7 separate regions of the Homo sapiens genome follow, and regions 2, 3, 4, 5, 6 and 7 are each linked to region 1. Evidence: promoter capture Hi-C in human tissues and cell types (Jung and others, 2019). All regions are on one chromosome and are shown on one strand. Each heading gives the region's core, a stretch centred on a gene start or on the middle of the fragment in contact. The rest is flanking DNA. Distances are from core to core; before and after follow the strand shown. Region 1 holds the start of LAT2 (linker for activation of T cells family member 2). Region 2 overlaps GTF2I (general transcription factor IIi). Region 3 overlaps GTF2IRD1 (GTF2I repeat domain containing 1). Region 4 has its middle 6.0 kb from the start of METTL27. Region 5 overlaps GTF2IRD1 (GTF2I repeat domain containing 1). Region 6 has its middle 7.9 kb from the start of TMEM270. Region 7 overlaps GTF2IRD1 (GTF2I repeat domain containing 1).

The links. Contacts are between HindIII fragments. The study calls those that stand out against the background at their distance.
Region 2: a fragment that was not itself captured here is called in contact with the fragment with the promoter of LAT2 in region 1 in 3 of the 25 tissues and cell types used here (dorsolateral prefrontal cortex, hippocampus and lymphoblastoid cells).
Region 3: a fragment that was not itself captured here is called in contact with the fragment with the promoter of LAT2 in region 1 in 2 of the 25 tissues and cell types used here (dorsolateral prefrontal cortex and lymphoblastoid cells).
Region 4: a contact is called between a fragment that was not itself captured here and the fragment with the promoter of LAT2 in region 1, in 3 of the 25 tissues and cell types used here (aorta, lymphoblastoid cells and spleen).
Region 5: a fragment that was not itself captured here is called in contact with the fragment with the promoter of LAT2 in region 1 in 1 of the 25 tissues and cell types used here (mesenchymal stem cells).
Region 6: a fragment that was not itself captured here is called in contact with the fragment with the promoter of LAT2 in region 1 in 1 of the 25 tissues and cell types used here (dorsolateral prefrontal cortex).
Region 7: a fragment that was not itself captured here is called in contact with the fragment with the promoter of LAT2 in region 1 in 1 of the 25 tissues and cell types used here (lymphoblastoid cells).

The regions. Positions count from the first base shown.
Region 1 is chr7:74,208,026-74,212,303 of GRCh38, forward strand. It overlaps LAT2 (linker for activation of T cells family member 2), which reads left to right and starts at 1,981. Exons shown (of 14, transcript NM_032464.3): 1 at 1,981-2,063. RefSeq lists enhancers at 1,465-1,574, 2,795-2,914 and silencers at 1,855-1,904, 3,015-3,104. The HindIII fragment of the contact is 33,709 bases long and covers 1-4,278 here.
Region 2 is chr7:74,718,391-74,722,668 of GRCh38, forward strand. It overlaps GTF2I (general transcription factor IIi), which reads left to right. Exons shown (of 35, transcript NM_032999.4): 12 at 489-551. The region is part of intron 2 of GTF2I-AS1 (GTF2I antisense RNA 1); the gene reads right to left. Among named protein-coding and RNA genes, the nearest start is that of GTF2I-AS1, 8.4 kb to the right of the region's middle. The HindIII fragment of the contact is 4,068 bases long and covers 514-4,278 here.
Region 3 is chr7:74,583,325-74,587,602 of GRCh38, forward strand. The region is part of intron 22 of GTF2IRD1 (GTF2I repeat domain containing 1); the gene reads left to right. Among named protein-coding and RNA genes, the nearest start is that of MIR10525, 11 kb to the right of the region's middle. RefSeq lists an enhancer at 3,876-4,278. The HindIII fragment of the contact is 6,527 bases long and covers 1-4,278 here.
Region 4 is chr7:73,846,334-73,850,611 of GRCh38, forward strand. No RefSeq gene overlaps it. Among named protein-coding and RNA genes, the nearest start is that of METTL27, 6.0 kb to the left of the region's middle. The HindIII fragment of the contact is 7,829 bases long and covers 1-4,278 here.
Region 5 is chr7:74,564,063-74,568,340 of GRCh38, forward strand. The region is part of intron 22 of GTF2IRD1 (GTF2I repeat domain containing 1); the gene reads left to right. Among named protein-coding and RNA genes, the nearest start is that of MIR10525, 30 kb to the right of the region's middle. The HindIII fragment of the contact is 5,280 bases long and covers 1-4,278 here.
Region 6 is chr7:73,866,882-73,871,159 of GRCh38, forward strand. No RefSeq gene overlaps it. Among named protein-coding and RNA genes, the nearest start is that of TMEM270, 7.9 kb to the left of the region's middle. RefSeq lists an enhancer at 3,090-4,019. The HindIII fragment of the contact is 3,681 bases long and covers 339-4,019 here.
Region 7 is chr7:74,508,594-74,512,871 of GRCh38, forward strand. It overlaps GTF2IRD1 (GTF2I repeat domain containing 1), which reads left to right. Exons shown (of 27, transcript NM_005685.4): 3 at 4,237-4,278. Among named protein-coding and RNA genes, the nearest start is that of WBSCR23, 22 kb to the right of the region's middle. The HindIII fragment of the contact is 5,923 bases long and covers 1-4,278 here.

The DNA of each region.
Region 1 (4,278 bases), core at 731-3,230:
TATTGACCATTAAACAGCTGCCCAAGGCCATTGAGCTATTAATTAAATAATAATTATTATTATTTTAAATTTTTTTGTTGTGTTTTTTGGGTTTTTTTGTTTTTGTTTTGTTTTTTTGAGATGGAGTCTCGCTCTGTTGTCCAGGCTGTAGTGCAGTGGCACGATCTTGGCTCACTGCAAACTCCGCCTTCTGGGCTCAAGTGATTCTCCTGCCTCAGCCTCCCAAGTAGCTGGGATTACAGGCACCCACCATCACACCCGGCAAATTTTTGTATTTTTAGTAGAGATGGGGTTTCACCATTTTGGCCAGGCTGGTCTCAAACTCCCGACCTAAATAAGGTGATCCACCTGCCTTGGCCTCCCAAAGTGCTGGGATTACAGATGTGAGCCACCACGCCCGGCCTATTTATTGTTTTTACAGACAGACAGGGTCTTGCTGTCCCCCAGGCTGGAGTGCAGTGGCAGAGTCACGGCTCACTGCAGCCTCCAACTCTTGGGCTCAAGAAATCCTCCCGTTTTGGCCTCCCAAAACACTGGGACTACAGGTGTGTGCCACCACACCCAGCTAATTAAAAAAATTTTTTTAGAGATGGGGTCTCGTTCTGTTGTCCAGGCTGGTCTCAAATTCCTGTTCTCAAGCGATCCTCCTGCCTCAGCCTCCAAAAATGTTAGGATTGCAGGTGCAAGCCACTGCACCTGGCCTCTATCTCCCTGTTTCTTGCTCTCTCCCCATCTGTGTGTGTCTCTGACAGTCTGTGGCTCTCTGTATCTTTCTGTGTGTCTCTCTGTGTGTGTCTTGGTCCATCTCATGCCCAGCTAATTTTTAAATTTTTTGTAGAGATGGGGTTTCACCATGTTGGCCAGGCTGGTCTTGAACTCCAGACCTCAGGTGATTCTCCTGCTTCAGCCTCCCAAAGTGTTGGGATTACAGGCATGAGCCACCGTGCCTGGCCCATGGGTATGAATTTCTGCCTGTGTGTGTCTTCTTCTTTTTTTTTTTTTTTTTGAGATGAAGTCTTGCTCTGTCACCCAGGCTGGAGTGCAGTGGCGCTATCTTGGCTCACTGCAACCTCCACCTCCTGGGTTCAAGCAATTCTCCTGCCTCAGCCTCCCGAGTAGCTGGGATTACAGGCACCCGCCACCACACCCAGATAATTTTTGTATTTTTGGTAGATATGGGGTTTCACCATGTTGGTCAGGCTGGTTTTGAACCCCTGACTTCATGACCTGCCTGCCTTGGCCTCCCAAAGTGCTGGGATTACAGGCATGAGCCACCGCGCCCGGCCCATGGGTGTGAATTTCTGCCTGTGTGTGTCTTTTTAGCGTATGTGTGTCTCCATATCTGCCATCTGCAGGAGCACCTCAGTTTCATTATCTTGCTCCCTGTCTATTGGAGTGTATCTCTCTTCCTCTCTGTGTGACTTTTTGTGTTTATGTGTGTGTTTAGTGTGTGTCCATATTTTCCTGTTCTCTTGTGTCTCTCTGCTGTGTCTCTCTCTTTTTCTTTCTGTTTTTTGAGACGGAGTCTCCCTCTGTCACCCAGGCTGGAGTGCAGTGGTGCGATCTCGGCTCACTGCAACCTCTGCTTCTGAGGTTCAAACGATTCTCCTGCCTCAGCCTCCCGAGTAGCTGGAATTACAGACACATGCCACCATGCCCAGCTAATTTTGTATTTTTAATAGAGACGGGGTTTCACCATGTTGGCCAGGCTGGTCTTAAACTCTTGACCTTACGTGATCCACCCGCCTCGGCCTCCCAAAGTTTTTGGATTACAGGTGTGAGCCACCTCGCCCGGTCCTATCTCTCTTTCTTCTCTTTCTCCCTCTCACTTTGTTTCTCTTCTCTCTCTCTCTCCCGCCTCCTTCCCCCGTCTCCCCTCCCTTCCCCCCACCGCCCTCTTCATAGCTGAGCCTGTCCGGCAGTGCGGCGGATGTACGGATGATTCAGTGGCTGGCAGGAAGCCCGCCCTGCCCGCCCGCCAGTGTCAGTGGTGTTGGCATCAGCTTGGGCAGGTGTGCGGGCTCAGGATGGGGCGGCCGTGGTGAGGAACCCTGGACTCTCAGGTAAGCCTTTCCCAGGGGTGCCTCAGTCCTCAGGCTGTCCCCCATCCCCCAGGAGCTCCTGGCCCCACTGGGTGGGGTGGGAAGAGGCCTGGATGCCTGGCGCCCCCTCCCGCAGCCCCACTCTCACCCTGGCACCAGGCTCTGTGGCACTTCAGGGGTCAGTTTGTTTCTGGGCTTCTGGCCACTCTCTTGCCCTCGCCTTCCCCTGTCCAGCCTGTGTAGCCTTGGGACATCCCAGGGTGGTCCCATCATTGCCAGAGACTGGTGAAGTAAGTGGCCGAGAGCCAAAACAGTGGCTGCCCTGGCCTGGGAGCCTCGGTTTCCTCATCCGTGAAATGGGACTGTAACCCCCTACACAGGTCAGGGGAAAACGGTGGGATTACAGGCCAGGGCCCAGGTCTTGCCCCAGGTCAGGTGAAGAACCCCCACTGCCTCCCTGCCCAGCCCCCTACCTGGCCCTCAACTCTGTCCCTGGGACCAGGGCTGCTCAGGCCCCTCCTGCACCCGCCCGCCTCCCTCTCTCCCTCCCAGCTAGGCTCATTTGAAGCCCAGAGTTATTTGGAAAAAGCAACAGGACCAGCCGGGCACGGTGGCTCAACCTGTAATCCCAGCATTTGGGGAGGCCAAGGCGGGAGGATCATTTGAAGTCAGGAGCTGGAGACCAGCCTGAGCAACATAGTGAGACTCCCATCTCTTTAAAAAATAAAAATAAAAAAATATAATTAAAAACTAAATGAAAAAACCAACAGACCCCAGAGCAGAGTCCAGTGGATAAAGCCATCCAGGGCTTCAAGCCAGGCTGCCCCCTCCCCAACCCCAGTGTCCCCAACCACAGCTCAGCTCGGAGAAGGCTGGGAGAACCGGCAGGGTGGTCTCGAGCGTCCTTCCAGGCGGGATTCAGACACTGTAGCTCCTCCAGCCCAGCCCCGAGAACTTCCCCGAAGCCAGCTCTTGGCAATCGTTGTTCATATGAAAACTGCCCACTTCCCTTTAGTGCTATTTTGGCCTCTGCAGAACCGTGGTCTGTGGCAGCCCCCACTCCCCACCCCGCCCAGCCCTGCCGGCCCCTGGGGGCCTCAGAGGGTCCACCCTCCGCTCCCTCCACCTCAGCCCACCTGCTTTCAGAACCTGGATGGGAGAGTGAAAGTGAGAGCGAGACAGAGACACAAAGGGAGACAGAGACAGAGAGAGAGCACAGAATTTTTTTAAACGGAGTCTCACTCTGTTGTCCAGGCTGGAGTGCAGTGGCGTGATCTCGGCTCACTGCAACCTCCACCTCCCAGGTTCAAGCAGTTCTCCTGCCTTACCCTTCCAAGTAGCTGGGGACTACAGGCACGTGCTACCACACCTGGCTAATTTTTTATTTTTTATTTATTTTTTATTTTTTGGAGACAGTCTTGCTCTGTCTCCCAGGCTGGGAGTGCAGTGGTGCAATCTTGGCTCACTGCAAGCTCCACCTCCCGGGTACATGCCATTCTCCTGCCTCAGCCTCCCGAGTAGCTGAGACTAGAGGCGCCTGCCACCACGACCGGCTAATTTTTTGTATTTTTAGTAGAGACGGGGTTTCGCCATGTTAGCCAGGATGGTCTCAATCTCCTGACTTTGTGATCTGCCTGCCTCGGCCTCCCAAAGTGCTGGGATTACAGGTGTGAGCCACCGTGCCTGGCCTAATTTTTTATTTTTAGTAGAGACAGGGTTTCACCATGTTGGCCAGGCTGGTCTTGAACTCCTGACCTCAGATGATTTGCCCGCCTCAGCCTCCCAAAGTGTTGGGATTACAGGTGTGAACTACCGCACCCGGCCAACAGCGCAGGATGTATTCAGTCTGGGGGCAGACACATGACTGTTTGTTAAATTTCATTTTTTGTTTTTAGAGATGGGGTCTTGCTCTGTCACCCAGGCTGGAGTTCAGTGGTGTGATCTTGGCTCACTGCAGCTTCCAACTCCTGGGCTCAAGCAATTCTCTTGCCTCAGTGTCCCAAGTAGCTGGAACCACAGGCATGTGCCACTGCGCCTGCCTAATTTTTTCATTTTTTTGTAGAGACAGGGCCTTGTTACATCGTCCATGCTGGTCTCGAACTCCTGGCCTCAAGCGATCCTCCTGTCTCGGCCTCCCAGTGTTGAGATTACAGGCGTCAGCCACCACGCCCAGCCTGATCCCATTTTATTTATTCATTTATTTAATTTATTATTATTATTATTATTATTTTGAGAT
Region 2 (4,278 bases), core at 1,298-3,797, 510 kb after region 1:
CAGAGGATATAGTCTTGTGTGCACTTGTGACACTCAGTCTCTTGATAGGAAAGTCTCCATTGTAAAGCCTGGGTTGTGGTTTTATTGAACAGTAGAAACCACTCCTCACATTTCTGAAAGGAGAGAAGAAATTCTAACCAAAGTAGAAAGCATTTGTTTCTATCCGAGCATCTTCTAGCTGTGGCAGGAAATTCATTGTGACTTTGTCATATCCTCATTCCTCCAAGACTATGGGATTTTTTTGAGTCAATTTCTGCAGGTAACATGTTATCATCTAAATTTTTCCAGAGTTTTTCTAATTTTTGTTTTCTTTTATCCCTATTTATAATGACAAGGGTCAAATTTTAATTTCATTAATATGAAATGAATGAAAATGCCAGTGGATTTTTATAGTAGGCTGCTTTTGGAGTATCAAATCAGTAAAATGTTGGAACATATGGAAACATGCTTAATAATGAATGTCATTTTAGAATTTTATTTTTTTCAAGATTCTACTCAACATGTCCCTTCAGAAACAAGTGAGGACCCTGAAGTTGAGGTGACTATTGAAGGTTAGTTATCTAAAAGCCTTGATTCCAAAGTTTACTTCTGGTCATAAAAATACTTGTCACATTCACATTGCTAAATATGCATTTCATTCATTTTTAAAGGAGACTTGTGGGACGAATACATGTGTCTGTGTGGCCAAAGCAGCCCACTCCCCAGTGCTTTGGGAGTTTTAGATGACAGAATGAGGCCGTGAGAATTAGCATTGGCCCACGGGTGGCCCAAGCTATCCTTGCTATCAGTGGGAGTTGAAAAGAGAAAAAGAAAATTATGACCAGACTTGATACACACAAAAACAGATTCTATAATCTATTGGGTTGTGATAGAAGAAGACTTATTTGGAGCTGGAATCCCTAATTTCTAATTAAGTAAAGTGGAGGAGAAAGTGTTGATAGTTTAGTGAGTAATTTTTAAAGCAAGTCCCTGCCCCCTTCAACGACCCGCAAATACTACTTAGAGGCTGACATACAATTTATCTTTCAAAACTGTTTTGAAGCAATAGCTACAAATATATTCTACAATACTCTCTATAGCTAAGATTGCTTCAAACCTGTTTTTTTCTCCAAAGATAAGCTTGAACTCAGCTGAGCCAGTTTATCCTGAATTATTTGAAAATTCAGCTAATAGAATTATTAACTATCACTTCATATTAATAGTTATTAAATGAGCATTGCGTTTTTCCTTTTAAATTAATGTCTCACAGCTGGGCACGGTGGCTCACACCTGTAATCCCAGCACTTTGGGAGGCCAAGGTAGGCAGATCACCTGAGGTCGGGAGCTCAAGACCAGCCTGACCAGCATGGTGAAACGCCCATCTCTACTAAAAATACAAAACTAGCTGGGTGTGGTGGTGCATGCCTGTAATCCCAGCCACTTGGGAGGCTGAGGCAGGAGAATCGCTTGAACCCTGGAGGCAGAGGTTGTAGTGTGCTGAGTTCACGCCATTGCACTACAGCCTGGGCGACAGAGTGAAACTCCATCTCAAAAAAAAAATTAAAATTAAAATTAATGTGTCACAATACTTGTGTAAGTTTCTTCCCCTGAAAGTACTTCTTTCTTGTGGTAAAATGTGAAAATGGTACAGTAAATTGTACAGTGGAAAGTTTTCTTCACCCTCACTCTGCTCCCAAGTCCCAATACTGAGGGATGTATGCCAGCTTATTGTGTCTACTTAGAGAAATAATTGCAGTACATATCTTGATGCGAAAATACACAGATGCTTTCAGCATACATTACAATGCACATTTTAAAATATTACATATTCCATAGGCCTCCCCCTCCCATAACTGCACATCTTGGTACTTTATTAGTTTTTTTTTCTAGCTGCTGCGTAACCTTTCTTGGTTTGCTGTCTGTCTCTCTTTCTCTCTTAATAACCTGTCACCTACTGATGTCACTTGGTTATTTCTAGTGTTTGACTACTCCAAACTACTCAACGTGTCTGTCTTCATTGCTTCTAAAATATAAGTCAATTAGTAGCTTCCACTTAATACAAGAAATCTTTTCATACTTCATGTGTTAACTTAATATACAGATTTCTTTTTTCATAAATATAATTTTTCTAATCTAAAACATTTTGCATTGTTTACAGTCCAGCATTAAATGGTTGAAATTTAATTCGTTTTTAGTGAGAAACCTCATTAACAGGAAAAAAACTTAAGAACATACAAATATTACAACTACTCAGCTGTGCCCTTTCTATGGAGATATTAATAGGAGGTTATTAAAATTATAAAAATAAAGCTTTTAGGGTAGGACTAATAACCATTTTGATTTGTCAAATCTTAAAGCAGATAGAAGCTGTATTTTTTTTTTTTTTTTTTTGAGACAGAGTCTGGCTCTGTCGCCCAGGCTGGAGTGCAGTGGTGCGATCTCGGCTCACTGCAAGCTCTGCCTTCCTGGTTCACGCCATTCTCCTGTAGAGGCTGTATTAAAATGGTTTAGAATGTAAATACTTGCTTTTATAGTATAAGACTTTTAAAGAAAGGTTACGAAAATCCAGAAATAAATGGCTCATGAACCTGAAGCTTATGTCAGCCTTTTGAACTTTAACTGTTTTGGATGGAGTAATAAATCTCTTTTCTTTTCATTTATTTGTTTATTTATTTATTTATTTGTTTTTGAGATGGAGTTTCACTCTTGTTGCCTAGGCTGGAGTGCATTGGCGCTATCTCGGCTCACCGCAACCTCCGCCTCGCAGGTTCAAGCGATTCTCCTGCCTCAGCCTCCTGAGTAGCTGGGATTACAGGCATGCGCCGCCATGCTCGGCTAATTTTGTATTTTTAATAGAGACAGGGTTTCTCCATCTTGGTCAGGCTGGTCTCGAACTCCTGACCTCAGGTGATCTGCCCACCTCGGCTTCCCAAAGTGCTGGGATTACAGGCATGAGCCACCGCACCTGGCCATTCATTTCTTTTAAACTAAGACATTGTGCCATAAGCCTGATTTAATGTTCACATTTGTGATTAAGTAGTAGAATTTTGCTAGTAGACCTCTTTCTTTTCAGAAGACCAGTGAAATACCAGGTCTGAGTAAAGTAATCCTTTTAAAAGGTAGCATTTTCCATGTCATATGTGCATATACACACACACATTTTATGTATTATATATAAAAAATATGTATATTATATAGAAATTACATCAACAATTAAATTCCTCATTTTTTTAAGAAGATAAAAAACTGTCTCAATATTAACAAGGAAGGTCAAGTGAGAACTTACATGCACACCTCTGGTTAATAATGTGTATCATATATTCTTTCTGGAAAGATTACTTCCAAATGGTAGGAGCTATTTAGATACCCGTAGTTAGGAAATAAAATTTTGGTATATCTTCATAACAGAAAAATATATAGCCATTGAAATCCTGATAATGTTTTCCAATAATCTGAAAAAAGATCTCTAATATAAAATGTTCAGTGGAAAAAAAAAAAATCCTGCCTTGAGAACAAGGCAACTTGAAAAGCAAAAGTGCATCTAGAGGATAATCTTAGTTTTGTTTTGGAAAATACTCATGCTTGGTAGGAAGACGGACAAAAATAAACTGAGATATTCCTGCTTGCTTGGAGACGACTTAATTTTCTCCTTTTATATCTTTTCACATTTCCCAAATCATTGGTAGAAAAAAAAACAGAACTTTGTTATCAAATAAGTCTGTCCGATTTTTCACAGTGTTTTCACCTCGATATCTTCATTTGCAATTATGTGGAGTTCTGAAGTGGCTAATTTGACACCGACGCGGACGTGTTTGTGGATACAGGGTCATTACTTACCCACTGCCGGTGCGCTCTGAGCTGTGCACTTCCATTTGTGGCGTTTTATTTGTACTTGGAGTCGGTGGTAAACATTTAAAACATACGTGACTTAGGTTTGGGAAATCGGCCTTGGACTAATAGGACCGCATGCCTCAGTTTTCGTAAACACCGTGACTACATTTCTGGGTTAAGGTGAATTGCCGTCAGGTATGTTATCTCTAATGTGTGCAGAGAAAACCTTATCAGACTTGTTTCAGGTCTAGCTGTCATGGGAGTGCTAAGAACCGTGTAAAGGAGGTTTCTTTCTTGCGCAGTTCTCTCTTAGGGCCTAGCTTCCCAAACCTGAGTCACTTACCTGTTACCTGTGTTCCTTCTGCTGTGGCCTAACTCTCTGTTCATTACTTAACCTGATTTTTTTCCCTTAAATTGATTTTAAGTAAATTCATTTTGTGATGAATTTTACGTCTTCCTAAGTCAAAC
Region 3 (4,278 bases), core at 1,289-3,788, 380 kb after region 1:
ATTACAGGCACACACCACCATGCCCAGCTAATTTTTCTTTTTTTTTCTTTTTTTTTTTTTTTTTTTGTGGAGACAGGGTCTTGCCATGTTGCCCAGGCTGGTTGCAAACTCGTGGCCTCAGTCTCCCAAATTGCTGGGATTACAGGCGTGAGCCACTACATCCGGCCAGTTCTTGGTGTTATTGACAAAGGCATTTAGCCCCACTCCACCCCTCCCACACTCCAGAGGTGGTCAGGACGCCTCCCCAAACTGCCAGCCCCCTCAGCCAGCCCGGCCCCACTTTCCTGACATGCACACTCCCACCACTTCTGGTCCACCGCCTGGGACCTGTGCCCCATATAGAATTGCCATAGTATCCTATCGACTGCCCCGTAGTGTCACTCCTGGTTAGCTGCAGCCTGGTTTAGGGTTGCACTTCTTCCCAGACCAGGCAAGACTTGGAAGGAAGAGGGGAAGTTTCCTGATTGGCTAAAGCATGTTGAGCACCTGAAATCACAGGATACTACAAGTTTCCTTGTGTCTTACTCACCGCTCACAACTGCCTTGGAGGTCCGTGTGATGAGCCCCAGCGTGCAGATGAGCCCACATCCTTGGAGCTTTGGGCCCCGTGTGGTGGTCACCTCCTCTGGGAAGTCCTCCCTGACTCCCAGCTGGGTCAGGATCCCTGCTATAGACCCCCGTGGGCCATGTAAACCAAAAGTGCCTGAAACAGGTCTCAATCAATTTAAAGATTTATTTTGCCATGGGGGAGGACACAGCCAGGAAAAAGAGACTCAAGCTGCAATAGGGTCTGTGGCCTGTGCTTTTTTCCAGAGTTTTGAGGACTTTGGTATTTAAAGGGGAAAGAGGGCCTGGGTACGGTGGCTCACAGCACTTTGGGAGGCCAAGCCAGGTGGATCACCTGAGGTCAGGAGTTCGAGACTGGCCTGGGCAGCATAACAAAACCCCATCTCTACTAAAAATACAAAAAATTAGCCAGGTGTGGTGGCGGGTACCTGTAATCCCAGCTACTCTGGAGGCTGAGGCACGAGAATCACTCGAACCCGGTAGGCGGAGGTTGCAGTGAGCCAAAATCATGCCACTGCACTCCAGCCTGGAAAACAGGGAGACTCTGTCTCGAAAAATAAAAAAATAAAGGGGGAAGAGGAATAGTTAATGATGTATTTATCCTGTGCTCAGTAAATCTGCCTTTTACATAAGATAAAGTAAATAGAGTAGAGGAAGTCATATAGGCATTTGTCTTGGGTAGACAGAGCAATGATTTCTATTCTTATCTTTGTCCCCTGCCTGTGAAGATAAGCTGTGAATTTACATGGCCAGGGTGAGGGAGGCCACCAGGGGAGCTAGGTGGCCTTCTATCTTGCAGCCATCTGTTTAGGAACAAAAGGCTATTGCGTGACTCAGTTCCCAAGCTTAACATTTCCCTTTGGCATAGTAAGTTTGGGGTCCCATGTTTTTTGTTTGTTTGGGTTTTTTGTGTGTTGTTGTTGTTTTGAGATGAAGTCTCGCTCTTGTCCCCCAGGCTGGAGTACGATGGCGCGATCTTGGCTCTCTGTAACCTCCGCCTCCCAGGTTTAAGCGATTCTCCTGCCTCCGCCCCCGGAGTAGCTGGGATTACAGGCACCTGCCACCACGCCTGGCTAAATTTTGTACTTTTAGTTGAGACGGGGTTTCACCACGTTGGACAGGCTGGTCTCGAACTTCTGAGCTCAGGTGATCCACCCACCTCGGCCTCCCAAAGTGCTGGGATTACAGATGTGAGCCACCGCGCCCAGCCTGTTTGGTGTTTTTTTTTTTTTTTTTTTTGAGACGGAGTCTTGCTCTGTCGCCTAGGCTGGAGTGCAGTGGCGCAATCTCAGCTCACTGCAACCTCCACCTCCCAGTTCAAGGGATTCTCCTGCTTCAGCCTCCTGAGTAACTGGGATTACAGGCATGCACCACCACGCCCAGCTAATTTTTTGTATTTTTAGTAGAGACGGGGTTTCACCATGTTGGCCAGGCTGGTCTGGAACTCCTGACCTCAAGTGATCCACCTGCCTCGGCCTCTGAGAGTGCTGGGATTATAGGCGTGAGTCACCGTGCCCGGTCTGGGCCTCGTCTTTGAGAGGCCTGCTAAGCTTCTTTCTGTCCTGCAGGTTTCGTAGAGCTCTGACTTTGAGTCTCGCTCTGTCCCGACACAGGAGAAGACAGAGGTGTGGCATTGTGGGCTGAGAGCAACAGATTAGAGGAAACTATCTTAAAGATTAAGCCTTCTTTCTACAGCTACTGTAGGGGAGCCTGGGCATGGTGGTTCACGTCTGTAATCCCAGCACTTTGGGAGGCCGAGGTGGGCGAATCACCTGAGGCCAGGAGTTGGAGACCAGCCTGAGTAACATGGTGAAACCCCATCTCTACTAAAAATACAAAAATCAGCCAGGTGTGATGGTGGGTGCCTGTAATCCCAGATACTCGAGAGGCTGAGGCAGGAGAATCACTTGAACCCAGCAGGCAGAGGTTGCAGTGAGCCAAGATCGCACCACTGCACTCCAGTCCAGCCTGGGTGACAGAGCAAGACTCTTCCAAAAAAAAAAAGAAAAAGAAAGAAACTGTAGAGGAATCTGAGACCTCAGGAAACCCAGGGCTCATGGTAGAGTGGAAAGACCAGGGCTTTGGGGTTGACACAGAGTACTCCTGGTGCTTAGAGGCTGTGTGACCTTGGGCAAGTTTCTTTACCTCTCTGAGCCTCTGTGTCTTTGGCTGCAGTGTCTAGGAAAGCATCTGCACACAGTGATGTGTGTGATCCAGGCCATCCTTTCTCTGTTCTGTGCATGCATGGCCATGCCTGCTGAGAATCCTGCCACCAAAGATTCCTCAGTGGCATGGGGACAGATGGAATGTGCTGTTGCTTCCCTGCAGGCTCTAGGAGCTGGTCCTTGGGCCCAGGACTCCATCACTGTTGTCTGCATGGATTTGGACAAGGGTGGCCTTGATTCTTCCCACATCCTAGTCCTGAAAGGAAGGCCCGTGTTGGGTCACAGGAGAAGACGAGGGTTCTAGGGGATGTGGAGCGTGGGGTCTTTGTGTGGCTGAATTAGAGGCATTACTCCACGAGATAGGGACACGGGAGGAGGACGTTGTCTGGAATGGCTGATGTTTGCAGTGTCTCTGGGCACGCAGGGGGGCTGGCGGGCCGTGCCTGAAGACAGATCAGCAACTCAGAGATGTGCAGAGATTGCTGAGTGTGGGTGTGGACGGACCAGGCCAGGGACCTGCAGGGTTTGGGAGGACCTGAGGTGGTGGGTGTTGGAGCCCTGGGAAAAGGAGGAACCAGGCCAAGCAGGTGCCCAGCCTCTGTCCTGTGGGAAGCTCCCTGCTCTTTGGGGCAACCCCCACATGGGGAACAGGGCCTCCATTCTGGCAGCTTGCGCACGGGAGGCCAAGCCACCCAGACGGGGTCAGCAGACTCTAAGCAGCACAGAGCACCACGCCAGGAGATGCAGTTCCCAAGGCAGCCTCCTAAACAGAAGTGAGCTCTTCCCAGAGTTTTCAAGATTAAAAGAGCCAGACACAGTGGCTCACAACTGTAATCCCAGCACTTTCGGAGGCTGCGGACAGGAGGATCGCTTGAGCTTAGGAGTTCGAGAACAGCCTGTGCAACAGAGAGAGACTCTCTCTACAAAAAATTTTAAAAAAACTTAGTCTGGCATGGTGATTCATGCCTGGAGCCCCAGCTACTTGAGAGGCTGAGTGGGGAGGATTGCTTGAGCCAAAGAGTTCAAGGCTGCAGTGAGCTATGATGGCACCACTGTACTCCAACCTGGGAAACAGGGTGAGACCCTGTCTCAAAAAACAGGAGTCAGGCTGGGCACAGTGGCTCACGCCTGTAATCCCAGCACTTTGGGAGACCGAGGCAGGCAGATCACCTGAGCTCAGGAGTTTGAGACCACCCTGGCCAATATGGCAAAACCCCATCTCTACTAAATATACAAAAATTAACCGGACGTTGTGGCAGGCGCCTGTAGTCCCAGCTCTCAGGAGGCTGACGCAGGAGAATGGCTTGAACCTGGGAGGCAGAGGTTGCAGCGAACCGAGACCGTGCCACTGCACTCCAGCCTGGGCAACAGAGTGAGACTCTGTCTTGGAAAAACAAAAAGAAAAAAAAACAGGAGTCATTTTGCTCCAAAGACCCATCAGTCTGCTCTGCCCTGAATCATCCGGCCCTGGCTCCCTGCCTGCGTCTAGCTCCACCCCACAACATCTCACCCTTACCGAACCCGCCTGCCCCAAGAGGCCCAGCCC
Region 4 (4,278 bases), core at 1,247-3,746, 360 kb before region 1:
TAAGCCCCATAGGGCTGGACCCTACATACTACGGGCCGTGGATATCAAGCTTCCCCTCCCACCAAGTCTAGTTGCTGCCAAAGTGACAGAGGGAGCTTGGGGGCTTGGGGAAGAGAAAACAGTTTGGGGTGGGAGATGTATTAAAATGATCCATTGGCTGGGTGCAGTGGCTCACACCTGTAATCCCAGCACTTTGGGAGGCCGAGGCTGGAGGATCGCTTGAGCCCAGGAGTTTGAGACCAGCCTGGGCAACATAGGAAGACCCTGTCTCTACAAAAAACTTCAAAAATTACCTGGGTGTGGTGGTACGTGCCTGTGGTCCCAACTGCTCAGGAGGCTGAGGTGGATCGCTTGAACCCAGGAGGTTGAGGCTGCAGTGAGCTAGGACTGTGCCACTGCACTGTAGCCTGAGCAACAGAGCAGACACTGTCTCAAAAAAACAAAAAAAAAAAAACAAAAAAAAACACGACAAAAACCAACCCCAAGTGGTTTAAATATTAGGGGTTTGGTATTTTTCTTACAGCAAGAAGGCCAGTGGTCAGCAGCACAGGGGCCAGGCCAGGGGCCCACTGATCTCACAAGGGCCCTGGTGCCAACCTCTCACTTGCCACATTGTGTGTTTGCACTGTTGGCTCCTTCTGGTCACAAATGGTGGCAGCAACTTGAACATTCCTTGCATCCTTACATTCAAAGCCCAAGGCAGGCCAGGTGTGGTGGCTCATGCCTGTAATCCTAGCACTTTGGGAGGCCGAAGTGGGTGGATCGCTTGAAGTCAGGAGTTCGAGACCAGCCTGGCCAACATGGCGAAAACCTGTCTCTATTAAAAATACAAAAATTAGCTGGGCATGCTGGCGGGCACCTGTAGTCCCAGCTACTCGGGAGACTGAGGCAGGAGAATTGCTTGAACCTGGGAGGCGGAAGTTGCAGTGAGCCAGGATTGCGCCATTGCACTCCAGCCTAGCAACAGAGCGAGTCCATCTCAAAGAAAAAAATACAAACAAAACAAAGCCCAAAGTAGGCTAGGAATGGCAGGAGCTTTTCCTTGTTTCTCCTTCCCTCCCTCCCTCCCTCCCTTCCTCCCTCCCTCTCTCCCTTTTGTCCTTTATATTTTTAATTTTAATTTTATTTTTTTGAGAGGGGTCTTGCTCTGTTTTCAGGCTGGAGTGCAGTGATACAATCCTAGCTCACTGCAGCCTCTACGTCCTGGGCTCAAGCAATCCTTCTGCCTCAGCCTCCTGGGTAGCTGGGACTCCAGGTGCTTGCCACCAAGCCTGGTTAATTAAAAAAAAAAAATTGTAGAGATGGGGTCTTGCTATGTTGCCTAGGCTGGTCTCCAATTCCTGGGCTCAAGCCATCCTCCCTCCTTGGCATTCAAAATGCTGGGATTACATGTGTGAGGAACCTACCTGGCCTTTCTCTTTCTTTCTATGGGAGGAGGGTATTTCCAGAAGCCACAGAAGCTGGGAAACTGTGATCTGGCACTTTGAGGCTCAGGTGTGGGGTGTGAGCTTTCCATCCAGGAAGGAGGGAGGGGAGAATGGCTTGTGGTACTGTTCCCAGACCAAACTGAGGGTCGGGCTGCTACTTCTTGTGGCCCAATAACGAGATGCACACAAACTGGGGAGGAAGAGAGTTTTTATTTCTGTAACCGTTTACAGGGAGAAGGCGTGGAAATTATCACCCGACTAACTCAAAGTTACAAAGTTTTCCAGAGCTTATACACCTTCTAAGCTATACGTCTATGTGTAAGTGTGCATTCATCTGAAGACATAAGTGATTAATTTCTTTTAATCCATGACTAAGGTCTGAGTCCCGAAGCTCTTCCTCTGGAACCTCAGTAAATTTACTTATCTAAATGGGTCCAGGTGCTGGGGTGATTCCTGTTATCTCCTGCTAAATCATGGAGGTTTGAGGAGTTCCTTCAGACCGCCAATAAATTTGTTTGTGGAGGCCTGGGGAGTTTCTTCAGACCCAAAATAAAACTTGCTTAATTCTAAATGGTCCTGTTAAGAATTCCTTCATTATTTTGTCGTGATTTAAGGCCCAGGAAAGGCCTGGGCAAAACTCTTGGTGGGCTTTTGTTACATCCCAGCCTTTGTATAAGGGCACTGGCTTTTAATATTTAAATTAACCACTCAGTCAGTACTGAAACAGTTGTTGGGGAGACCTGGCCTGCCACAGTGCGGGCTCCTGTGCTGCTCCTGGGGTGTGAGGGCGTGTGTTCCTTCATGTGCACCTGTGTGATGAGCGGGGAATGTTACAGGTGTCCATTTTGATGTGTGCAGGACCCAGGCCATGGAGAGCTTGGTCCCCAGGCTATGGACTCCCTCCCTTCCTTCCTTCCTTCCTTCTTTTCTTTTTCTTTCTTTCTTTTCTTTCCTTCCTTCCTTCTTTCTTTCTTTCTTTCTTTCTTTCTTTCTTTCTTTCTTTCTTTCTTTCTTTCTTTCCTTTCCTTTCCTTTCCTTTCCTTTCCTTTCCCTCCCTCCCTCCCTTTCTTCCTTCCTTTCTTCCTTCCTTCCTTTCTTGATGGAGTCTCACTCTGTTGCCCAGGCTGGAGTGTAGTGGTGCAATCTTGGCTCACTGCAACCTCTGCCTTCTGGGTTCAAGCAATTCTCCTGCCTCAGCCTCCCAAGTAGCTGGGACTACAGGCATGTGCCACCACGCCCAGCTAATTTTTTTTGTATTTTTAGTAGGGATGGGGTTTTGCCACGCTGGCCAGGCTGGTCTCAAACTCTTGACCTCAGGTGATCTGCCTGCCTCGGCCTCCCAAAGTGCTGGGATTACAGGCATGAGCCACCACGCCTGGTCTATGGACGTGCTTTCTAACCCTGAATGTGTAATGGGGAGTTGTGGCTTCAGATTTGCATTTTACCAAGATGGCTCCAGAAGGCGGCAGGGAGAGCCAGCTGGGTGAACCGCAAGTTCCGAGGCTGTTGCAGTTACTTGGCAAGAGCTGGAGTGTCAAGAGTCAGGGGCTGCTGAGGAGGGGGTGACCTTGGTGCTGATGGGGTGTGGGGGCTGTTGAGGACCAGATGGCAACTTCCCTTCCTTGGAGTTTTCTTCCTACCTCATCTTCTTCACCGCCTCCTCCTTGCTCTTCTCCTACCTCTAAGCTTAGGAGAGGCCCCCGGCTCTGTCCTGGGTCTTCTTCCTTCTCTGTGTACACCCACTTCCTAGGTGATCTCATCTAGTCCCGTGGTTTTAAATACTGTTTATTTGTGGGTGACTCCCAAATTGATGACTTCTAGTCTTGGCTCTCCCCTGAACTCTGGACTTGTTCACCCAGCCATGAAACTGACATCTCCTTGGAGGCCACAGGTCTGGCAACGAGCCCAGACCCGAGAGTGATTCTTTCCACTCCCAAATCTGCTCCTCTTCAGGGCCCGTCTCTGCAAATGCCCCTGAACCACCTTGCACTCAGGGGCTCAGCTCAAGCTGTTTTTCTCCCATCTCGCACCCTGTTCATCAGCAAATCCTGTGGACTCAAACTACACCAGCCAGGTGCGGTGGCTCACACCTGTAATCCCAGTACTTTGGGAGGCCAAGGTGGGTGGATCACTTGAGATCAGGAGTTCAAGACCAGCCTGGCCAACATGGCAAAACCCTGTCTCTACTAAAAGTACAAAAATTATCCAGGGATGGTGGTGCATGCCTGTAATCCCACCTACTTGGGAGGCTGAGGCAGGAGAATCACTTGAACCGGGGAGGCAGAGGTTGCAGTGAGCCAAGATCACGCCATTGCACTTCAGCCTGGGCAACACAGCAAGACTCTGTCTGAAAAAACTAAAAGAAAAAAAAGAAGAAGAAAATCTCAAACACACACAAAAGAAGAGACTAGTGTAATAACTCCCCATGTATTTCTTCATGAGCGTTTCAATAGTTAACAAACTGAGCCCAGCCAGAGTGGCGTTTTTACAGTATCCATCTGATGAGTTTACGCCCCTGCTTAAAACCTAAAATCCAGCTTCTTTCCTCTCCTTATCTGTAGCGTCTCTTTTCCTTGATCCGCCACTCTGGCCTCTGCTGTTCCTGGACTGTGCCAAGGCTATCACAGGGCCTTTGCACTATTTTCCAGCCGGGAAAATCCCCTCACCTCAGCCTCCCGAGCAGCTGGGACTACAGACGTGCACCACCACACCCAGCTAATTTTTTTTTGTATTTTTCGTAGAGGTGGGGTTTTGCCATGTTGCCCCACTCTTCCTTCAACTCTGCTTCAGTGGCTTTTTTTTTTTTTTGAGATGGAGTCTTGCTCTGTCGCCCAGGCTGGAGTGAAGAGGC
Region 5 (4,278 bases), core at 481-2,980, 360 kb after region 1:
GTTGCCCAGGCTGGAGTGCAATGGCACAATCTTGGCTCACTGCAACCTCCACCTCCCGAGTTCAAGCGATTCGCCTGCCTCAGCCTCCTGAGTAGCTGGAATTACAGGTGTGCACCATGACACTCGGCTAATTTTTGTATTTTGAGTAGAGACGGGGTTTCACCATGTTGGCCAGGCTGATCTCAAACTTCTGACCTCAGGTGATCAGCCCGCCTCAGCCTCCCAGAGTGTTGGGATTACAGGCGTGAGCCACCGCACCTGGCTGAGATTGTGCTTTTTTGAAGATGAATCAGTCATTAAATTGCAAGAGCCCCACTGCACCCTAGAGCTGTGAGCCTCCCCAGTGTAGGGTGAGAGTACAGCCACTCCTGGACTGGTTTTGTTCTGGGTCAAAAGAGATGACTCAGGCCAGACGTGGTGGCTTATACCTATAATCCCAGCATTTTGGGAGGCCAAGATGGGAAAATCACTTGAGCCCAGGAGTTTGAGACCAGCCTGGGTAACATAGCAAGATCCCATCCTGCAAAGACATTTTTTTAAATTAGCCAGACATGGTGGGGACGAACGACTGTATTCCCAGCTACTCGGGAGGCTGAGGCGGGAGGATCCCTCGAGCCTAGGAGTTGGAGGCTGCAGGGAGCCATAATTCCAGTGTGTGTGACAGAGCGAGGTCTTGTCTCTAAAAAAGAGAGAGAGAGAGAGATAAGCCCAGAATGTCTTTAATATTTTCCCAGCTGAGGACATCACGTTTGCCTTCAGTGCCTCAGTTTCCCCACTAAAATCTAGAGGCCCTGCCTGCTCTGACATGCTGAGTGGCGGGCAGGCGTCTAGCTTGAGAGGAAGGCATACTTGGACTTGGACCAAGCCTCAGAGGGCAGTGGGTGAATTTCAGGCCTCAGGTCAAGGGAGCTGTGGGCCAGGGGTTTCTGGGGGCCAGGGGTACTAGAAAGCACCAGACTGAACTGGAGGGGACCTGGTGGGGGGCCTCGGGTTGCAGAGGGATGGGGGGGACTGGGTCCCCCAACTCATACCAGAAGGAACTCCAGCCCTGCCCGCAAGGGGCTGAGACAACCCACGCTCGACCCTGGGGGCTGAACGCCATTGGTAGCTGGTAGCTCTATACTGCCCAACCAGGCCACACCCACCTGCCTGCAGCGGCACTGAATTAAATTAGGGAGACTGCCAGGCGCGGTGGCTCATGCCTGTAATCCCAGCACTTTGGGAGGCCAAGGTGGGTGGATCACGTAAAGTCAGGAGTTCGAGACCAGCCTGGGCAACATGGTGAAACCCCAACTCTACTAAAAATACAAAAATTAGCCAGGCATGGTGGTGCACTCCTGTAATCCCAGCTACTTAGGAGGCTAAGGCAGGAGAATCACTTGAACCTGGGAGGCAGAGGTTGCAGTGAGCCAAGATCGCGCCATTGCACTCCAGCTTGGGCAACAGAGCACAACCCGGTCACAAAAAAAGAAAGAAAAAAGAAAACCCAGGACAGCTAACGGGGGCTGTTCAGGATATGCTGGGAAGAAGCGGTGGTGACTAAGGCGGGAGAAACCCTCTACCCAGGTAGCTGCTGTAATATTCCATCCGAAGAACATTCTAGTAGGTCATAAAAACCTAAAGGGGGTCGGGCATGGTGGCTCATGCCTATAATCCCAGCGCTTTGGGAGGCCAGTGCAGGAGGATTGCTTGAAGCCAGGAGTTGGAGATCAGCCTGGGCAGCATAGTGAGAACCCATCTCTACAAAAAAAATTTTTTTTAATTAGCTGGGCATGGTGGTGGGTGGTGGCGCTTGCCTGTAGTCCTAGCTACCCAGGAGGCTGAGGCAGGAGGGTCACTTGAGCCCAGGAGTTTGAGGCTGCAGCGAGCTATGATCACAAAGCTCACATCACCTCACTTCAACCTGAGTGACAGAGTAAGACCCTCTCTCTAAAAGACACACAAACACACACACACACACACACACACACACACACCCTAAAGAGAAATGCAAATATATGCCCATGGTAGAAATTTGGAAAATACAGAAATCTAACAACCCAGATGGCTGTTCATTTTTATGATGATACATTTCTTCCAGATTTCCCCCCAAGCTTATTAATTTTACATCTCACTGTTCTTCTTTCTATAAATTTACACATTTAACCTTAAAACATAAACATGTTCCCATGTCTTTAAAAAGCTCTGTTCCCTCTTCAGGCTGTATCATGGTTATGTAACTACCCTGTCCCCCAGTTATGGACATTTGAGCAGCCCCTCACACCACAGACACCTAACACTCACGTCACACTTTTTTTTGAGACGGAGTCTCGCTCTGTCCCCCAGGCTGGACTGCAGTCGTGTGATCTCAACTCACCGTAACCTCCGCCTCCCGAGTTCAAGCAATTTTCCTGCCTCAGCCTCCCAAGTAGCTGGGATTACAGGTGCCCGCCACCATGCCAGGCTAATTTTCCTATTTTAGTAGAGACGGGGTTTTGCCATGTTGGCCAGGCTGGTCTCGAACTCCTGACCTCAGGCGATCCACCCGCCTCGGCTTCCCAAACTGCTGGGATTACAGGTGTGAGCCACCATGCCTGACCACGTCATACTTACGATTTGCCGGTTACAAAGCCCACTCACGTTACCACGTCATCTCCCCAAGTAGCTGGCCTTATTGGAGGGGACTGAGGCTCAGAGAGATTAAGCAGCTTTCTCAAGGTCACACAGTAGTGTGGTAGAGATTTGAACCTAAGTCTTTACCATTTTATTATACTTCGGAACCCAGGGCAGGCTCTACCACTAGCCTAGGGCTTGTTGTGTGTCCCTGAAGTGGGTTGCAGCCACGCCCTCTTTCCCACCACCCCTCTGGTCTCATCCACACAGGGTGGCTCTTTGCTGTCCCCTCCTGGCTACCAGCAGCTATTACACTGGTCCTGCCTGTGTAAACCTTTAGGCTTGTAGTTAATCCTTTGAGTTCATTTATTTGTACAACAAAAATGTATGGAGGGCCAGGCGCAGTGGCTCACGCCTGTAATCCTAGCACTTTGGGAGGCTGAGGCAGGCGGATCACAAGGTCAGGAGATCAAGACCATCCTGGCCAGCATGGTGAAACCCCGTCTCTACTAAAAATACAAAAATTCGCTGGGCATGGTGGCGCATGCCTGTAATCCCAGCTACTTGGGAGCCTGAGGCAGGAGAATCGCTTGAACCCGGGAGGCAGAGGTTGCAGTGAACTGAGATTGCACCACAGCACTCCAACCCGGCGACACAGCGAGACCCTGTCTCAAAAATAAAAAAGAAAAAAAAAAGGAGAGAGAGGTGGAAAGTCCGCAGGTGAAGCCCAGGGAGAAACTTACTGAAGGGGGTGATTGGTTGCACCAGCCTCTGCTGGGAGGTCAGTCCTAATGCCTGAGAGTAGACGGAGGTGCTAAGCAACAGGTTGCAGTGGGATGGTTCAGAGCAATTTTGGGGGAAGTGGTGGGGACCAGAGTGGAATAGTGGGCTCAAGAGACAATGAGAAAGGCAAGTGATTGAATCTGCCAAGGACCAAGCACCAAAGTGCCAGCTCACTGCCACCCTCAGTAAAGACTAACTTGCCCTTTCCCCCAACTCCCCTCCCAGAAGTAGCTTGCTCTCCTCTGCCTGCCACACATCGGGGGGGTCAGGTCTAAAAGGATCACCTTTTAGAGGGCAGGAGAGAATGAACAAGAGTTGAGAGTGGAATGGCTGCAGAGAGGGCTTTCTTTTTTTTGGTGGAGGGAGGGGACAGAGTCTCGCTCTATTGCCCAGGCTGGAGTGCAGTGGCGTGATCTCGGCTCACTGCAACCCCCGCCTCCCGGGTTCAAGTGATTCTCCTGCCTCAGCCTCCCGAGTAGCTGGGATTACAGGCGCGTGCTATCGCGCCCGACTATTTTTTGTATTTTTTAGTAGAGATGGGGTTTCACCATGTTGGCCAAGCCGGTGTCAAACTCCTGACCTCAAATGATCCACCTGCCTCAGCCTCCCAAAGTGCTGGGATTACATATATGACCCACCACACCCAGCCAAGAGAGGGTTTTAGAGGTAGGAACAGCAGCTGCATGATCTTCAGCAGATTCAGTAGAGAGGGAAGTGAGCTGTGGGAGAGGAAGGAGGATGGGGGGAATGGCAAGAAAAGGAGCACCCTGCTTAGAAAGGGAACGGAGCTGGGTGTGGTGGCTCACGCCTGTAATCCAGCACTTTGGGAGGCCGAGGCAGTAGGATCACTTGAGCCCAGGAGTTTGAGACCAGCCACATAACAAGACTGCATCTCTATTTAAA
Region 6 (4,278 bases), core at 929-3,428, 340 kb before region 1:
ACCCATCCATTCACCCACCCATCTGCCTACCCATCCACTCACCCATTCATCTACCCATTCATCCACCCATTCATGCATCCATCCATCCATCCGTCTATCCATCCACCCATTCATCTATCCATCCACTGGTCCATTTGCCTATCCATACATCCACCCACCCACCCACCCATCCATTCACCCACCCATCTGCCTACCCATCCACTTACCCATTAATCTCCCCATTCATCAACCCATTCATGCATCCATCCATCTATCCACCCACTCATCCACCCATCCATCCACCCATCTATCCATCCATTCATCCATTCATCCATCCATCCATCTATCCATCCACTGATCCATTCACCCATCCATCCATCCATCCTCCCAACCACCCATCCATTCAGCCACCCATCTGCCTAACCATCCACTCACCCATTCATCTACCCATTCATCCACCCATTCATGCATCCATCTATCCATCCATCCATCCATCCATCCATCCACCCACCCACCCACCCATCCATTCATCCACAGAACCAACCACACCCACTCACCCGCTATCTGTTGAAGAGCCATCTGTCTCCCTGGGGAAAGGGGAAACCTATCCAGTATCTCAGCACTCCCCTAACCTGTGAGTAAGGACACAGGGTCCTGCTGCATGGGTGGCTGATGCTGCTGTGCCAGCTCAGGCTGTGATGCTTCCAATCCCCAAGACTCAGCCTTCAGGTGAGTGATTCTGCTGAGAGGGGAAGGGATGGTTTCTTGAGTGTTTGCAGTTACCTCTCACCTACTCCCAAGCCAGAGGGTGGTGGTGTGAGCGTGGCTCTTCTCCACTCGGGTTCCCAGCTCAGTGAGGGCCTCCCTTACAGCTCAGGGTGGATGTGGGTGAACTTCCAGACCCTTCCTCCAAGTCTAAGCAGCAAGGCTGTCCTGCTCTAGGAGGGACATCTGAGGGGTCCCATCTGGCCAACGAGGTAGAACATGTACCAGGAAGGACCTATAAGCACCTGGTCAGAGGGGTAACATGACTGGGATTCTAGAACATACACACAGCTTTCAGGGAAGCATGAGTGCAGGAGTAGGTGATGTCAGCTCTTTGCTGAGGCAGGGACTGGAGGAAAGGAGGAGGCCCCAGAGCAGTTTGGGGCCAAAGTGGGGATGGACAGGAATGTGGCCCAAGCCCCGTGGAGAAGATCTGGGCTTGGGGACAGAAGCTTGGATTCTGTGCCTCTGCCTCTGCCTCTGCCCGCCTAGGTCACTGGGTGTGACCTTGGATGAGGCTCTCTTTGCCCACTCTGGACTTCGGTTCCCATGTCTGTGCAATGCGGGATGGGTGGGGTGATCCCCGATAAGGGAGTCAGCATTTGGTTTGGTTTTTGTTTTTTTGAGACAGGGTTTCGCTGTCACTCAGGCTGGAGTGCGGTGGCATGATCTCCGCTCACTGCAGCCTCCACCTCCCAGGTTCAAACAATTCTTGTGCCTCATCTCTCGAGTAGCTGGGACTACAGGCGAGCGCCACCATGTCTGGCTAATTTTTGTATTTTTAGTAGAGACGGGGTTTCACCATATTGGCCAGGCTGGTCTCAAACTCCTGACCTCAGACGAACTGCCCACCTTGGCCTCCCAAAGTGCTGGGATTACAGGTGTGAGCCACTGCGGCTGGCCGAGAGTCAGCATTTGGGGTTCCTTGATGCCAGGCCTTGTTCCTCAGTGCCCAGGTAAGAGGTGGGGTGGGGCAGGAGAGGAGCAGTCCCCCTGTCTACGCAGCCTGCCAATAAGGCCCTACACTGGCTGACTTCTGGCTCCCTGAATCCCCTGTCCTGGAGTTATTGCTGCTTTTGCAAGATCTCTTCTAGGACTTGAATTCTTCCGGCCTTCCAAGGTCTCTGGCATCCTGGGGGAAAGGGAGAAGGCCAGAATCTCCCCTCGGCTGCCACTCACAATGGTGGGCACAGCAGAGGCCTTGGGGTCAGAGAGCCTTGGGTTTGGATGCTGGATCCACAACCTCTCAGCTGTGTAACCTTTGGCAATTTACTAAACCCTGAGAGCCTCAGTTTCCCCTCCTGTGATCAGGGTATAATCACAACACCCCAGATGTCACAGGGCTGTTGCCTGGTCTGTGCACGTGCGGTCCCCGCTCAGAGCAGGCATGGGAGGCTCTTGGGACCCCACTCCCTGGCTCCCCATCTCCCAGGCCTGCTGCCTTTCTGGGGGCTGCAGCTTCTGAGGCCCGGGGTGGGAGCAGTCAGTCCGTCTGTCTCAGGCCTGTGAGCATGGAGGGGCCCTGGCCTGCTGGAAGAAAACAACTGGTGGCCGGTGTCAGGGGGTGGACGGGGCATGGGCAGGGTGGGGGGAGCTGGCTGCAAGGCCAGCCAGCAGCTTCACGCAATCTGTCTGCTATGCAGTCCTGGGCCTGGCCTGTATTTATTTATGCTGAGCGTGTATTTATATCAGTCCCTTTTTCATTAATAGGGCAGGAAATGGCTGGAATTGTTACATACCTGGCGGGCCAGGGGTCCCACTTCGCCAAGACACACAGGGCCCTGGCTGCCCCGTTGTGATTGTAAGGGCCCCCCTCCTCAGTCTGCCCGCAGGCCCCGGCCCGAGTTCCTGGCCCTTCCCTGACCCCCCCGCCTCTTGTTTTGAGACCCTCTCCACCTCCCGGAGCCCTGGAACCCACATTCCCGGGCGAGGGGTTCATTTGCAGGCCTCTCCCTGTCCCCCGGTTCATCCTGACCTCATCCCAACCCCAGGAAAGGCTGCGGTGTTAGGGGCTGTCAAAGTGCGCACTGAAGGATGGGGGAGGGGCTGGTGAAGTCCACGCAGAGCAGCGGGAGTTTCGGGGAGAGATCAGGGTCGGGAGGGTTTGGGGATGGGATCCTGGCGCCCAGGATGGGGGGACTGGACAGAAAAGGAAATGAGGGGATACATAATAAGAGGGTTCCCCTGAGCAGAGGGGTGGTCCCACCCCCTGGGGCTTCGCTCTCCACCAAGCCCAGTCCCATCATGTAAGCATGGGTGGCCTCTGTCACTTGGGACCTGCCTAGCCCACCAGAGGGGTCTGTGTGTCTATCACCAGCCCCCCTGCTGCCCCAGGCCCAGTGGGGGATGGGGGCTCACTTCTGTCCTGCCTTCCTGCTCCCCGGTCTGCACACTGGGTTCAGCACTGAGCCAGCGTCTCTCTCCAGGCCCCAGCTCTTGGGCTCAGGCCCCAGGTGGGGCTGCCAGAGCTGAGAGGCGCGGCCCCTTCCCCAGAGCGCTCGCCTGACATAACCTATTAGCGCTTCTCGCTTCAATCCAGCTCCCCCAGCCAGCCTCCCCACCCAGGCCAGACTGTGCCGGTCCTGTTGTCTCTCTCCTGAGCTGCTTTGCCCCGACAGGGTGAGAAGGAGCTGGCAAGATGCCCGATGGCCCCAAGAGTAGCTGTGCCTGTTCGCCCCTCCCCTGCTAGGCTGCCCTATGGTCAGGTGGACTTGATCATTGACCTTGACCAGTGGCCGCTGTGGCCACGATGACTTCCTGTCTCAGAGTCCAGAGCTGGGGCCGCTGGACAGTCGTGGGACTGAAACTTAGAGGACAAGGGGCTTTCCTGAAGTCCTGCCCTGTGCCTCGGTCCTTGCCTTCTCAGCTGCACTTCTTTTTTTGTTTTGTTTTGGAGACAGTCTTGCTCTGTCCCCCAGGCTGGAGTGCAGGGGCACGATCTCAGCTCACTGCAACCTCCACCTCCTGGGTCCAAGCAATTCTCCTGCCTCAGCCTCTTGAGTAGCTAGGATTACAGGTGCCCCGCCACCATGCCCGGCTAATTTTTGTATTTTTAGTAGAGACGGGGTTTCGCCATGTTGGCCAGGCTGGTCTCGGACTCCTGACCTCAGGTGACCCGCCCATCTCAGCCTCCCAAACTGCTGGGATTACAGGCATGAGCCACCGCGCCCGGACTCTCGGCTGCACTTCTAGGGGCTGATGGAGGGTGCTGGGGAGAGGCAGCTGACCTTGGGCAGCTGTTGGTATTGAGAAGGGGGCTGCTGGGAGACTTGGGGTTATTATCTAGGATGGAGGCCCTCTGGGTGGCAGGAGGGGGAGGCTGCAGGGTCTCAGGACCATGCTGGGGGCTAATGCAGGGGTCTCTGGGCTTCCCCAGCTGCCCCCCATATCTGTGCTAGATGGGTGAGGATGGCCGGGCACCTGGGAAGCCGTCGTGTCTGGGATCCCTCGGGAGGCTTTCTCCAGCCCCCTCCATCCAGCGCTTGCTTAGCAGTGGTAGTGCCTTCTCTTCTTTCACCCCTCTTCGCCTTTGAC
Region 7 (4,278 bases), core at 461-2,960, 300 kb after region 1:
GGCAGGAGAATTGCTTGAACCTGGGAGGTGGAGGTTGCAGTGAGCCGAGGTCGTGCCATTGTACTCCAGCCTGGGTGACAGGGCAAGACTCCGTCTTAAAAAAAAAAAAAAAAAAATCTAGCCCTGGAATAAACACTGGCTCTCCGCCCTCGTCCCCTTGTCCCTTCACCCCTCTTGCCATTCCCACTTTGTCCCTGGGATGAACCACATGCCTATCTCCTAGCAGGTGACCTGGGGGATAATGTGTGGGGAGCCATTCACTAGAAAGATGTAATCCCCAACGTTAAAGCAAGAGTTCTAACTGCATCTCGGGCAGGAAGAGAGAAACCGAGCTTTGTATAATACATCACTCCCCTGGCGCTATTGCCTACATACCTAGACCTATAACAATTTATCCCAAATGAGGACATCATAATACCATTTTCCTCTAGCCTTTTCCTGGGGGGAAGTTCTGTGATGGAAGTGTTAAAAAAAAAAATCTGGCCCAGCACGGTGGCTCACGCAAGTAATCCCAGCACTTTTAGGGGCCGAGGCGGGTGGATCATTTGGGGTCAGGAGTTCGAGACCAGCCTGGCCAACATGGCAAAATCCCATCTCTAGTAAAAATATAAAAATTAGCTGGGCCTGGTGGCACATGCCTGTAATCCCAGCTACTCGGGAGGCTGAGGCAGGAGAATCACTTGAACCCTGGAAGTGGAGGTTGCAGTGAGAAGAGATAGCACCACTGCACTCCCGCCTGGGCAACAGAGGGGGACTCCGTCTCAAAAAAAAATAAATAAAAATAAAAAAATTAGACTGGCATGGTGGCACATTCCTGTAATCCTGCCTACTCAGGAGGATGAGGCAGGAGAATTGCTTGAACCTGGGAGGCAGAGGTTGCAGCGAACCGAGATCGTGCCACTGCACTTCAGCCTGGGCAACAGAGGAGACTCTCTCAATTAAAAAAATTTTTTTAAATAAAAATAAAATTAAAAATCTGTCTAACATCAGTTAGCTGCGCTCCTGCATTTTAGGATGATGAAGCACAGAGAGGGTAGTACCTTGCCCAAAGTCACACAGCATGACCAGTTTTGTTTTGTTTTGTTTTGTTTTGTTTTTGAGACGGAGTTTCGCTCTGTCGCCAGGCTGGAGTGCAGTGGTGTGATCTCGACTCACTGCAACCTCCGCCTCCCAGGTTCAAGCAATTCTCCTGCCTCAGCCTCCCCAGTAGCTGGGACTACAGGCCCCCACCACCACACGTGGCCAGATAATTTTTGTACTTTTAGTAGAGACCGGGTTTCACCATGTTGGCCAGGATGGTCACAATCTCTTGACCTCGTGATCCGCCCACCTCAGCCTCTCAAAGTGCTGGGATTACAGGCGTGAGCCACTGCGCCTGGCCCAGCAAGACCAGTTTTTAGAGCGAACTTCTGGGTACAAAGTCTCCCCGAAAAATAAAGGACCTCCTTCAAGCTGTTCCTGCTGTAGGTGGCTCAAGGGCTGCTTAAGTGGTGTTTGGGGCAGCGGTGGGAGACACCCCTGGAAAAGGGGCTGGGTGCCACACTCTCTCCATGATGACCCCTCCCCTATGCAGAGTGACTTTCATGAGGAGGGGGCCCCAGGAGCTCAGCCCTGTGTCCCAAAGTACTGTGAGCTTGGCATTGATGGAGGTGTGGCTGATGTGGGCAGTGATGGGCGATGCCATGGCCACTAGTGACATGTGGCTATTTGCAATTTTTTTTTTTTTTTTTGGAGATAGGGTTTTGCTCTGTCACCCAGGCTGGAGTGCAATGGCGCGATCTTGGCTCACTGCAACCTCCGCCTCCTGGGCTCAAGTGATTCTCCTGCCTCAGCCTCTGGAGTAGCTGGGATTACAGGTGTGCGCCACCACACCTGGCTAATTTTTTTGTATTTTTAGTAGAGACGGGGTTTCACCATGTTGGCCAGGCTGGTCTCAAACTCCTGACCTCAGGTGATCCACCTGCCTCAGCCTCCCAAAGTGCTGGGATTACAGGTGTGAGCCACTGCCCCTGATTCATTTAAATTCGAATTCGTTAAAACGAAATAAACAACTCAGTTGTTCAGTTGCACCAGCCTCATTTTACGTGCTCAGTAGTCAGAAGTGGCTGGTGTCTATGGATTGGACAGTGCAGAGGTAGAATGTTTTCATAGTCATAGAAAGTTACACTGGGTTGGCCAGGCGCAATGGCTCACGCATATAATCCCAGCACCCTGAGAGGCTGAGTGGGGCAGATCACTTGAGGCCAGGAGTTTGAGACCAGCCTGGCCAACATGGTGAAACTCCATCTCTACTGAAAATACAAAAATTAGCCAGGCATGGTGATGCATGCCTGTGGTCCTAGCTATTCGGGAGGCCGAGGCAGGAGAATCGCCTGAGCCTGGGAGGCAGAGGTTACAGTGAGCCGAGGTCGTGCCACTGCACTCCAGCCTAGGTGACAGAGCAAGACTTTGTCTCAAAAAAAAAAAAAAAAAGTTCTACTTGGCAGCAGTGGTCTAGTGAGTGTTTCAGAGCCTCCTTGGAGGAGCACATGACCCTATAGTTATCCTAGCAGTGCGAACAAGACAGGCTCCCCCGTCCCTGGGCCTTTTAAGGGTTTCCTGAGGGACCCTATGGGTGACAATGATATTTGCTTAGCAGTAACTTAAGTCCAGCCTCCTCCAAATGCTAGGGTCTTTTGGTGACCTGTAGGGAGGGTGGGCTGAAGGGATGTGCCTTCGTCACCCGCCCCCAATCTCATCCTCTTCCCCACCAGCTCTGGGTGCCTTTAGGTGGGTGAGTTTTCTGCCATGGTCTCGGCGTCTTCAGCTGAGCGGTGACTGTGGGATGAAGCAGCTCTTTCAGCTGTGATGGATGAGAAACAGCTGGATTTATTTGTTTTATTTTTTGTTAATAGTCTACAGTGTTCCCGCGCAGAAAGGGAACAGCAAGCTTTTGTTTTCATCTTAGAAGAAAATGAATGCCCTGTGTTTTAATTTTCCAGTAGGGACCCTGGAGGACAGGCTTCCTGGCCCCACGCCGCGTGCACCTTCCTAACCAGAGCGACTCCAGGCTGGGGCTGGCACAATAGGCAAGATTATGGCCCAGAGAGGTTACCTGTCCCAGGCCACGCAGCACAGAACTGCGTTTGGAAGCCAGACTTTATAGCTGCCAGCACTACCTGACTCAGATGAAAACCAGCATTTATTAGACACAACTGCCTGCCACAGGCTTCACAGTCAGGGTTTTCCTGGTGGGGTAGGTCAGAGACCTGAGATGCTGGTGGTCTTGGTTGTAGGGACCCCCTACATTAAGGCCTCTGGGCTATGGGGCTGCAGACCTCGACTCTGGGGCCATGAGGATAGCCAGCTGCCTGTATACCCATATAGGGTGTCCCAGTTTAGAGATCTTTTTCCTCCAACCATTGAATCCCCATACCCAAGCCCAGTGGCACTGTGGAACTGGGCTGCTTGTCCCCAATTCTATAGACGTGGAAACTGGCCACGCAGAGTGGCTCACGCCTGTAATCCCAGCACTTTGGGAGGCTGAGACGGGCAGATCACCTGAGGTCAGGAGTTTGAGACCAGCCTGGCCAACATGGTGAAACCCCATCTCTACTTATAATACAAAAATTAGCAAGGCGTGGTGGCGGGCGCCTGTAGTCCCAGCTACTCGGGAGGCTGAGGCAGGAGAATCGCTTGAACCTGGGAGGCAGAGGTTGCAGTGAACCAAGATTGTGCCACTGCACTCCAGCCTGGGCGACAGAGTGAGACTGTGTCTCAAAAAACAAAACAAAACAGATGTGGAAACTGGAGCCCAGAGGAGGGACGTGACTTGCTCAAGTCCCACAGCAGAAGTGGCCGAGGTGGGATTGCAGCCCCAGTCTGTCCAGTCCCCGCCTGTCCTGCAGTTCTTCCCACCTCCTCCTCATCCAGGACTTGAGAGGGGCCAAGAAAACCCAGCACGGCATTGTCCCTGGGGCTGGGGCTAAGGGGGGCCTACCCCAAGGAGGAGGACCTTGGAGGGAGGAGCAGAGGACACTTGTCCTCCTCCACCCCCCATCGCCAATGCCTGCAGGGCCATTTCATTCAGTCCCACTACAGAATCTGAGACCAAGAACAGTAGAGGGGCCGTCTGTCCCTGGAGCTGCTGCTGGGGTCTCAGGCAGCTGGGAGCTCACATCCCACCCCCGAAGTGGATACTAGAGGTGTTCGGAGTATGGGGAGCCCTTCCGCTCACACAGCCTGCCCTTCCCACAGTGCTCAGCGCTGTCCAAACTGAACGCCGAGGTGGCCTGTGTC